Regions from separate parts of the Homo sapiens genome. Here region 2 is linked to region 1. The links are contacts of gene promoters, found by promoter capture Hi-C in human tissues and cell types (Jung and others, 2019). All regions are on one chromosome and are shown on one strand. The core of a region is centred on a gene start or on the middle of the fragment in contact, and the rest is flanking DNA. Distances in the headings are between cores, read along the strand shown.

Region 1 (4,709 bases), core at 1,401-3,900:
CAGGACACGTAGCATGATTGGTCCAAGACACATGTCCAAGTCAGAACCAATTCATCTCAGAACTGACACATCAGATACAAAAAGAAAAATGTGATGAAGTCAGCAAATGTAAAGTGTTAAGGAGATAATGTGAAAGTAGAGAAATCTTTTTTTTTCCTGTTTCTTGAATAATAAGAATGGTTGGCTCCAATCAATTTCCATTATTCCAGCTTCCTCCTACTCTACACGTGGACGATTTAAAACCACAGTTAACTCAAACACAATCTAGATCTGTTCTAAAATGAAACACACCATCTAGGGCAGGGGCGTGGGAGGGAGAGGTATATTTTCTTTCCCATTAATATCAAAATTGGTTTGTATTTCCTGTTTCTCTTCCAAGCAGAGGAGCATGGAGTGGCTCAGAAGGAGAAGTCAGGAGTTCCCTAGAATTTGACATTGCTCAGAGACACCAGGGTTGTCTACATGTTTAATTCAAAAACTGCCAGCTTCTAACAGAACAAATTCTTCCCCCACCCCCCACCCCCGAAACTGTGAGAGAAGAAGGGATGGGAAAGAAAGCCAATCCTGCCTTATTCTTACAGGCCTTCCTAGAAGGGTCCTTTAGCCAAATGGTTTTCAATGCTTCTGCACAACCCCCTCTCCCACATCCCCCTGCCCCCAGTACATCTCCTTTCACAGGCAGAAGGGCTCTAGTCTAAGGCTGTCTCCTCCCTGAGCTGGAACTCTGATCTCACACAGCCTCAGCTGCACCCCTAAGCCATGAGGAGCCCCAGAGGACCCCAGAGTCTCCCTCTTTCTCCCAAAGACTAGGAGCTACAAAGCCTGGCTCTAGGGTCTTTGAAAGAGCCACCCCCACACCAGCCCTTCCTGAACCAGGATTAAAAGACTTCCTAGAGCAGAGAAGGGGAGTAAATGAGGCCCCAGCAGGAGGCATGGAGATTAAAGACTTTAGAGTCTCCTAACTTCCATCCAAGGCTCTGCCCCGTCCCACCCCCTCCACCCGCTGGCCACTTTTCTCACTTCCTAGGAGAGTAGGGAAGTGGCCCCTTCCTCCCTCTCACAGAAAAAAAGCAAAAGAAAAATGCAGCATAGAATAGGGGTTTAGAACACCAGCTGGGATAGTCCCGGTTCAAAGCCCAGTACCCCCACTTAATCAGCTGTGCGATCCCAGACAAGCTACCCGGCCCCTCTGGAGCTAAACTTTCCCAATCTTAAAAACGGAGGAGGCAGGACCCAGTAGCTCACGCCTGTAATCCCTGCACTTTGGAGGCCGAGGTCGGCGGATCACTTGAGGCCAGGAGTCCAAGACCAGCATGGCCAACATGGTGAAATCCCCTCTCTGATAAAAATACAAAAATTAGTCGGCCGTGGTGGCTGGCGCGTGCCTGTAATCCCAGCTACTCGGGAGGCTGAGGCAAGAGAATTGCTTGAACCCGGGAGGCGGAGGTTGCAGTGAACCGAGATTGCGCCACTGTACTCCAGCCTGGGTGACTGAGGGAGACTCCGTCTCAAAAAAAAATTTTTTTAATTAAAAATGGGGGAAATACTCGTCCCTACTTCATAGACCGCCTGTGAAGGTTAAACCTGCTAATTAATGACACATGTAAGGTGTCTGGCACATAGTAAGTGGTCGGTTGTTATTTTACAAAGTCTGAGGCCGTGGTTTTGCACTTGGAGATGGGGAGTTGGTGGGGGTGGATGCAGTTAGGGAGCCTGGACTGCCGAGTTTTGAGTTCGAAACCCACTCTCCCCGAACTCCAGCAAAAACCTGTGCATGGGGGATTCTACCCTGGGGTTCTGTCAATCCCCGCCCCTCCTCTGAGCTTCAGGTTTTATCCTACTCCATCAACGCGCAGGGACGTTGGGCTCTGGGGCTCCTACGGTATGTCCTAGATGAGTGGTGCACCGGGCGCGTAGTTATTCCTGGGAAAAAGACGCAGGAGCGCCAGCTCCCGGCGCCGCCGGGGTCCCCAAGCCCCTGCATCGCGGATGTAACTAATTTTAAAACTATTTGAAAGGCGGGGACGGGGAAGAAAAGACAAAAGGGCAGCGCGCGCCGCGGGGAAGTGGAGTGCGGGAGAGCCCCGGTCGGAGCAGGACCGTGCGCCGGCCAGGGAGGGAGGCGACGCGACAGCTCTGGAGGAGCTCGGATCCCCCCCGCTTTCCGCGCGCCCTGCGGGGCGCCCCCGAGGCAATTCTCCACCCACGGGGACCACGGCCACAGGTTGTGGGGACCGCAGCGGGGCGAGCGGCTGGAGGGAAAGCTGTCCCCAAGCTCCCGAGCGACACTCACCGACTGCAAGAAGCGCAAGGTGCCCACGTAGTCCCTCTCGGTGCCCAAGATCTCGTTGAGGACGCAGAGGCGGAGGCGCAGCTGGCGCTCGGACTCCCGGGCGGCCGCGCACGGGCCGGGGCCGGAGCTGGGCGCCGCGGCGCCAGGGGCCCGGGGGTCCGGGTGGGCGCAGTCCCCGGCCCCGTCGCCGCCGGGCTCGCTGCCGCTGGGCGCCTCCATTCTAGCGCGGCCGCGCGGCGCCGGCTCCTTCCGTCGCGCCGAGCGGCAACTCAGGCGTCCAGGCGCCCCATCCCGGACGGGGCGCGCCGGCGGGCCGGGCTCAGCGGCGGGCCGGGCTCCCGGCGCGGCGGGCGGGACTGGGGGCCGGGCGGCTGGGCCGGGGGCGGAGGCAGCGCGCGGGGGCCGGGCGAGGGGCGGGAGGGGGCGGCCCTCGGGGCTCCCAGACGGCTGGCCCCCCGCCCCCGCGCCAGGGACCGTCTGCCAAGTGCCACGCCGCGCTCGGCCGCAGAGGCGCTCTGCGCGTGCACGGGGCCCCTGGGGACGCGGCGCGGCGCTCGGCGCCTCCGTCGGAAGCTCGGGGGTCGGGCGGGAGCCTCCGGAAGGGCCCCGCGGAGCCGGGAGTCCGAGGCCGCGCGCACGCCGAACCGAGCGTACCAACTCCGCGCCCGGACGCGTGGCGCCCCCCCAACCCGCAGTCACCGCGGGCTACGCCACTCCCACCCGGCACACGCGACACCCGCCGCGCGCAGGCTCCTGCTTGCAGGTCCGGCCGCTGCTCGGGCCAAGTAAACACCGGGCTGGGAAAGCTCGCTGCGGAGCCGCTCGGGGGCAAGCCAGCCCCGCCACGCGCGCCTCCGCGGCCCCGGGAAGTCAGGGGCGACCGCTGCCTGGGCAGTGACGGCCCCTCTCTGGGCAGTGACGGCCCCTCCCGGGAACGCCGGGCCCTCGCGGTGCCCTCGGTGCTACCACGACCTTGGGAAGGAACATGCGTGGCGCGCGCTCGCTCTCACTTTTCTCTTTCCCGTTTCCTTTCCCATCTCTCTCTTTCCTTCCTTCCTTTTCTTTCTGAACTTCTTTGCCCCCTGACCCTGCCCTTTCCACCTTTCCCAGAAGAAATTATTACCTGCTCTTGAGTTATTGATCAAGTGGCAGGTACCCTGCCTGCTCCCCCTTCCATCCACCCACCCCATGGGATAAGGCCTTGGGAAACCCAGCTTCTTGTCAGGTTGCTCTGGGCAATGTTGATCATCACCCGCCTTATCGGAAGGTATGGAGAGGGGAGGAAGTTCTGGGGCCTAGAGTCAGCTGCTCAGGTTCAAATCCTAGCTCCCCACTTGCTGGCCGGGTGGCCTTGGGCTGGTTTCCTTGCTTCAAGATCCTCAGTGTTTTCATCAGTATAACGGGAACGATCATGGTACCTAGCTCCAAGGTCCTCCCCGGGGTTCCATGGGAAGTACTTAGCACCTAGAAAGTTCTCTGTAAATGTTTGTTCTTACTATTATTGCATGTGTGAAGCCCAACACCTAGAAAGTTCTCTGTAAATGTTTGTTCTTACTATTATTGCATGTGTGAACGGCCCTCTAAGCCTGGCCCCACTCTCAAATGGCCCATACAATCCCTAATCACCCGTGTTTCCGGACCAGAGATTGTATCGTCTCTGCAGGGGATAAAGTGATCCACATAGTATCCGCCTCTAGACTGTAGTCATTTTATGGACAGAAACATTGCTTATTTATTCCTGTTCCAAAAGCCTAGGATTTTCCTCCCATTGGCCTCTCAATACTGTAAGTGCCTAAGGACACAGGGAGAGAATGGGGTGGCTTCTGCCCTCTCTGACTTCTTTCTTTGGGATCATGGGCAAGGTAGCATTTGATCTGGGCCTTGGGCTGAGTGAAGTTCCCCTGGGCAGGGAGTAAAGGACATGAGATAGGTGAGCCTGTCACGCTTGGGTAGTGGAGTCAATTGTGTCCAAAGGTAGCTGGTTTTTTATTTATATTTTTATTCCTAATAAAGGCCTCTGGAGTATCTCTGCTTTGTGACTTTAAACTGTTCACGGTACCTTTCTGAGCCTCCGTTTCCTCATCTTTAAATTAATTCTGTCTACCACGAGGGGAGAACATGGCTGGAACATAATGGACCATGGAATGAAGCGGGCTTGCATTTGTATCCCAGTCCAAATCCAACTGGCAGGGTAACCTTGGCCAAGACACGTTATTTCTCTGGGCCTCAGTCGTCTAATCTGTAAAAGGGGAGTCTTTGTGAGAGCGAATTCTATGCAATACAGACTTTCTCAACCTTGGGACTATTGACATTTGGAGTCACATAACTCTTTGTTGGGGGAGGGGCGTGTCCTGTGCATTTCAGGACATTTAGCCGCGTCCCCTACCCACTAGATGCCAGTAGCACTCCCTCCCCA
Region 2 (4,709 bases), core at 715-3,214, 350 kb after region 1:
CTAGCTGCTGCGGTGGGGAGAGTCAGGGGAGGGCCACCAGTGACAAGCAGAATCAATTATCCTAAACAAAAAGCACCTAAGCATAATTTAGAGACAAAGCATGGTTCAGTGGAAAGAACACTGACTTTGGAGCCAGACCAGCCTGTGCTCTAGAACTAATACTTGGTGCCTCAGGACTCTGAGCCAGTTATCTGGCCCCTCGGAAGCGCATCAGCATCCTCAGCAATTATTATGAGCTTTACGCTGCAAAGATGTTTATGAGTATTAGAAATACAACATAAAGGGTCTAAGAAACCCTTTTCTTTGGTTCAAGGAAAGAGCTAAATGAACTGCAACTTTTATATTATTAGGTAAATTCAACCTGACCTTTTAATTCCTTTTCTGCATAAAATAACTTTCACCCTGTAATTCTAACCTGGCACATGGTAAGAGCTCAATAGCAGTAAATATTATTATCCAGCAAATTCACTAAACCTGTCCTTACACATAAACATCTATAAAACTTACAGCAACACTCCACTTGTAAAAAATTTTAAATAGGATCAGAGAATATGCTGACTAAAACCAACCCACTCACTGAGCAACCAGTTCTGTAGCTACATCAAGTATAGGGGCAAGGCCGGGAACAGTGGCTCAAGCCTGTAATCCTATCACTTTGCGAGGCTAAGGCAGGCGGATTGCCTGAGCTCAGGAGTTCGAGACCAGCCTAGGCAACATGGCAAAACCCCATCTCTGCTAAAAATACAAAAAATTAGCCGGGCGTGGTGGTGCTCAATTGTAGTCTCAGCTACTCGGGAGGCTAAGGCAGGAGAATTGCTTGAACCCAGGAGGTGGAGGTTGCAGTGAGCCGAGATGATACCTCTGCATTCCAGCCTGGGCAACAGAGCAAGACTATCTCAACAAAAAAAAAAAAAAAAAAAAAAAAAAAAAAAGCAGAGGCAATCTAATGAAGGTTTAACCCTCAGCAATCATGTTCATTCAGGGGAAAAGACCCCAATGTATTTAAATAGATTTTCTTAGCCTTTATTGTCTGGGAGACATGACACAAAATTTCTATCATAATAAAATGGCCAGTTTTGCTTCCATTACTGTTATAAACCCACATAGTCATCACACTTCTTTCCCAAATTAGATTCCAGATTAAACAGATGCCAGATGGGTTACAGATTTGATATTCAGAAGACTAATTTTTAATCGAAAGCAAACACTTTCTCAAATAGATTTTTCCACTTTTGCTTCCAGTAAATATACTTTGAGGGAGTTCCCTGAGTCTACTTCTTTAACAAATAAACATATGTAATCCCAGAAAATATACAGCAATTAACAGCCTGCAGAAATTTTTCTCTACTTCCATTTATCTGGTGACATAAATCACTGTTACATCAACCTTATTCACCAGTATGGGAATGTAAACACTTAAAAAACAAATTAAGCTATTTGCAGTAATTCCCATTTTACCACTTTAAAAATATTACTTTTCTCTGCAGTAAGGTTTTCTAGTTCAGAGCATTAAGCTGTCAACAAGACAGATATCCAAGCCCATCCATCCCGTGGCATTTGATAAGATCAACACAGCTATATATTTATAATCCTATTATCTCCTTAGCAGGTGAGAACAATGGATTTGGCCAACATTATTCAAGCTTCATAATACTGTATGGTAAAATGTTCATGACAAAGAGCAGAAGGTATGCCGGGCACAGTGGCTCACGCCTGTAATCCCAGCACTTCGGGAGGCCGAGGTGGGCGGATCACAAGGTCAGGAGATCGAGACCATTCTAGCTAACACGGTGAAACCCCATCTCTACTAAAAACACAAAAAAATTAGCCAGGCATGGTGGCGGGCACCTGTAGTCCCAGCTACTCGAGAGGCTGAGGCAGGAGAATGGCATGAACCCAGGAGGTGGAGCTTGCAGTGAGCCGAGATCACACCACTGCACTCCAGCCTGGGTAACAGAGCCAGACTCCGTCTCAAAAAAAAAAAAAAAAATAGTAGACGGTGTTCAGCACCATGAAACAGGGAGGCAAAAATAGAAAGTAGATGGTATCTAAAGAGATGTACAATAAAACTTCATAAACTTTGTTATATGTTTGAAATTTTTCATAATAAAATGGTGGGGGTAAATAACCATAGCAACTAACATGTCCTCTCATAGTTCAACTGATAACTGGCAATTTATATTTTTTGGAACAGCACAAATGGTATACAGCCTTGACTCTGGTGAAGTTTTATTTAAAGAAAAGCTCATGTAGAAAATTACACGAGAAGCATTTCAACCACAAATGTCTCCATCACCAGAAGTCAATGTAAAATAACCTGTTATAGGTCTAGTGTGAAACAAATCTGTCATAAAATTCTCTAAACATTTTTGAAAGCTCTAAAATCCCATTCTGAGAGAAAAGCAACTCCAAAGCTCTTATTTGAGAGGGGAGGAATTTATATTTCCTCAAATTGAACAATTCTGTGTCACTGGGTATCACATCAAATAAGAAGATCCAATTTAGAGGCTCATGAAAACAAGGCCTCTGCCTATAATCCCAGCTACTAAGGAGGCTGAGGTGGGAAGATGACTTGAGCTCAGGAGTTCAAGACCAGCCTGGGCGACAAACTCTGGGATTGACTTGTGGAATCCCACAAAAAGATACCCTTTTCATGAAAGTTTCATCTTTATACTGAATTACACTCTTACTCAATCCAGTAAAAAGGCTCAAAGAAAGTTGCCCCACAAACTGAGACTACCTTGTGGTATTGGGGAGAGAGACTGGATGAAGCAGTATCCATTTTGATAACACCCAGAATGATATCAATGATCTGGACTTTAGAATGGGGATGGAGGAGAGTTCCATGAGTCATGGCCATTTCTAAACTTAAAATACAGTAAATCCTCTCTTAACATAAGGGGTAGGTTCTTGGAAACTGAGACTTCCGACTAACACACGCTTATTGATACAAACAAGAGTTAGGTTCTAGGGCATATTTCTCATCAGAAAAATATCACCAAACTTTTAAATAAAGACCAAACACTTCGAATATTAAACACTGAAATAAATGTGAAGTATACATGCCTTTTTTTTTTTTTTGAGAAGTACTTTTGCTCTTGTTGCCCCGGCTGGAGTGCAATGGCACGATAACCGCTCACTGCAACCTCTGCTTCCCAGGTTCAAGCAACTCTCCTGCCTCAGCCTCCTGAGTAGCTGGGATTACAGGTGCCCGCCACCCAGCCCGGCTAATTTTTTTTATTTTTAGTAGAGACAGGGTTTCGCCATGCTGGCCAGGCTGGTCTCCAACTCCTGACCTCAGGTGATCTGCCCACCTCAGCCTCCAAAAGTGCTGGGATTACAGGCATGGGGTTGCAGTAAGCCGAGACTGCACCATTGCACTGCAGCCTGGGTGACAAGAGCTAAACTCCATCTCAAAAAAAAAAATTTTTTTTTTTACCACTTATTCCAGTTCAGGGTTGGGGTGGCTGGAGCCTATCTCAGCAGCTTAGGGTGCAAGGCCGGAACCAGTCCTGGACAGGACATCCACTGCAGAAAGCACTCACACTTACACACACAGCTCCACACACCAGTGAACCTCACGTGCACAGCTTTGGGATGTGGGAGGAAATCAAGAGTACCCAGAGAAAACCCATGCAGGGATAGGGAGAACGTGTAAACTCCACAGACAGTTTTTTTTCTCAACATTATCTTGAAACAACATTATTCAAGGACCTGCTGTAATCTGTATATACATGGACTTTCTGGCTGAAACCTAAAAGAGAGCAACTTATTCTCAAGAAACTATATTTATGGTAACAATTCTCAATGCTTAAAAGTTTTACGTTAAGCTTAATGGGAAGCACTACACATTTTTAAAAATGTGTTGTGTCCTTTCCCAGATACTAAATTGGCGTTTCTTTCCTAAATCAATTTTAAGAGGTGTATCTTTCCCCATCTTCCAGGTAGTCATAACTAAAACATAACATGTAACATTTCCACTGTACCTGATCAAGCTCAAAGTACACCTACAAAACTCAAATAACAGACCTAAAAGCTGAAAACTATTCACGACCAGAAATTTGAAAGTTATGCAACAAAGACATTTATAATATTTATAATATTCCTGTCAACTTCCATTGTAAGAGAGATCCTTTAGACACAAGAAAGAAAAACGTGAACACTTATGCTGTGATTTCATACTATTCACAAAAATTAAGGTTTCATTCATATTTGCTAAATTTGTTATTTGGAAATAGGGCAGACGGGGGCACTTTGGAAAACAATTCTATGTTAGAAGATTATCTTTTGCTTAATTCTTAACCTAAGGTAACAGCAGTATCTTTACACAACTACTGTAAAGAAACATTTTAAGTTTTCATTATGAATTATTAACTGTAGTTTAACTTTGACACAAAGTTATCTCTATTAAAGTGGGTTAAAAGGCAGGTCTCTGCCAAAACAGGACTGGGGAAATCTGTATTTGTTCGCTTTTCAATTATAGTCATTAATAGCTCAAGAATTTTTGCTTTTGTACACAATAAAGCAGCAAGGTTGTATTTTGATTTTGAGGAGCTGAAGGCATTGGATCAAGAGTTAATTTTCTTCTTCTTTTCTGCTGTACAGAAATCATGTATAAACAGAGAAGGGAAGCCCAACAAACAAAAATGAGAACTATTATTCTACTAAAAGTAAATTTTGTGACCTTAATCTGGGGCAATCTGGTAAAA

What was found. Contacts are between HindIII fragments. The study calls those that stand out against the background at their distance.
Region 2: a contact is called between a fragment that was not itself captured here and the fragment with the promoter of PREX1 in region 1, in 1 of the 25 tissues and cell types used here (hippocampus).

The regions. Positions count from the first base shown.
Region 1 is chr20:48,825,349-48,830,057 of GRCh38, forward strand. PREX1 (phosphatidylinositol-3,4,5-trisphosphate dependent Rac exchange factor 1) reads right to left here and starts at 2,651. Exons shown (of 40, transcript NM_020820.4): 1 at 2,294-2,651. The coding sequence starts at 2,512. RefSeq lists silencers at 2,145-2,214, 2,625-3,304. The HindIII fragment of the contact is 14,754 bases long and covers 1-4,709 here.
Region 2 is chr20:49,180,866-49,185,574 of GRCh38, forward strand. The region is part of intron 1 of STAU1 (staufen double-stranded RNA binding protein 1); the gene reads right to left. Among named protein-coding and RNA genes, the nearest start is that of STAU1, 5.1 kb to the right of the region's middle. RefSeq lists an enhancer at 1-126. The HindIII fragment of the contact is 6,066 bases long and covers 1-4,709 here.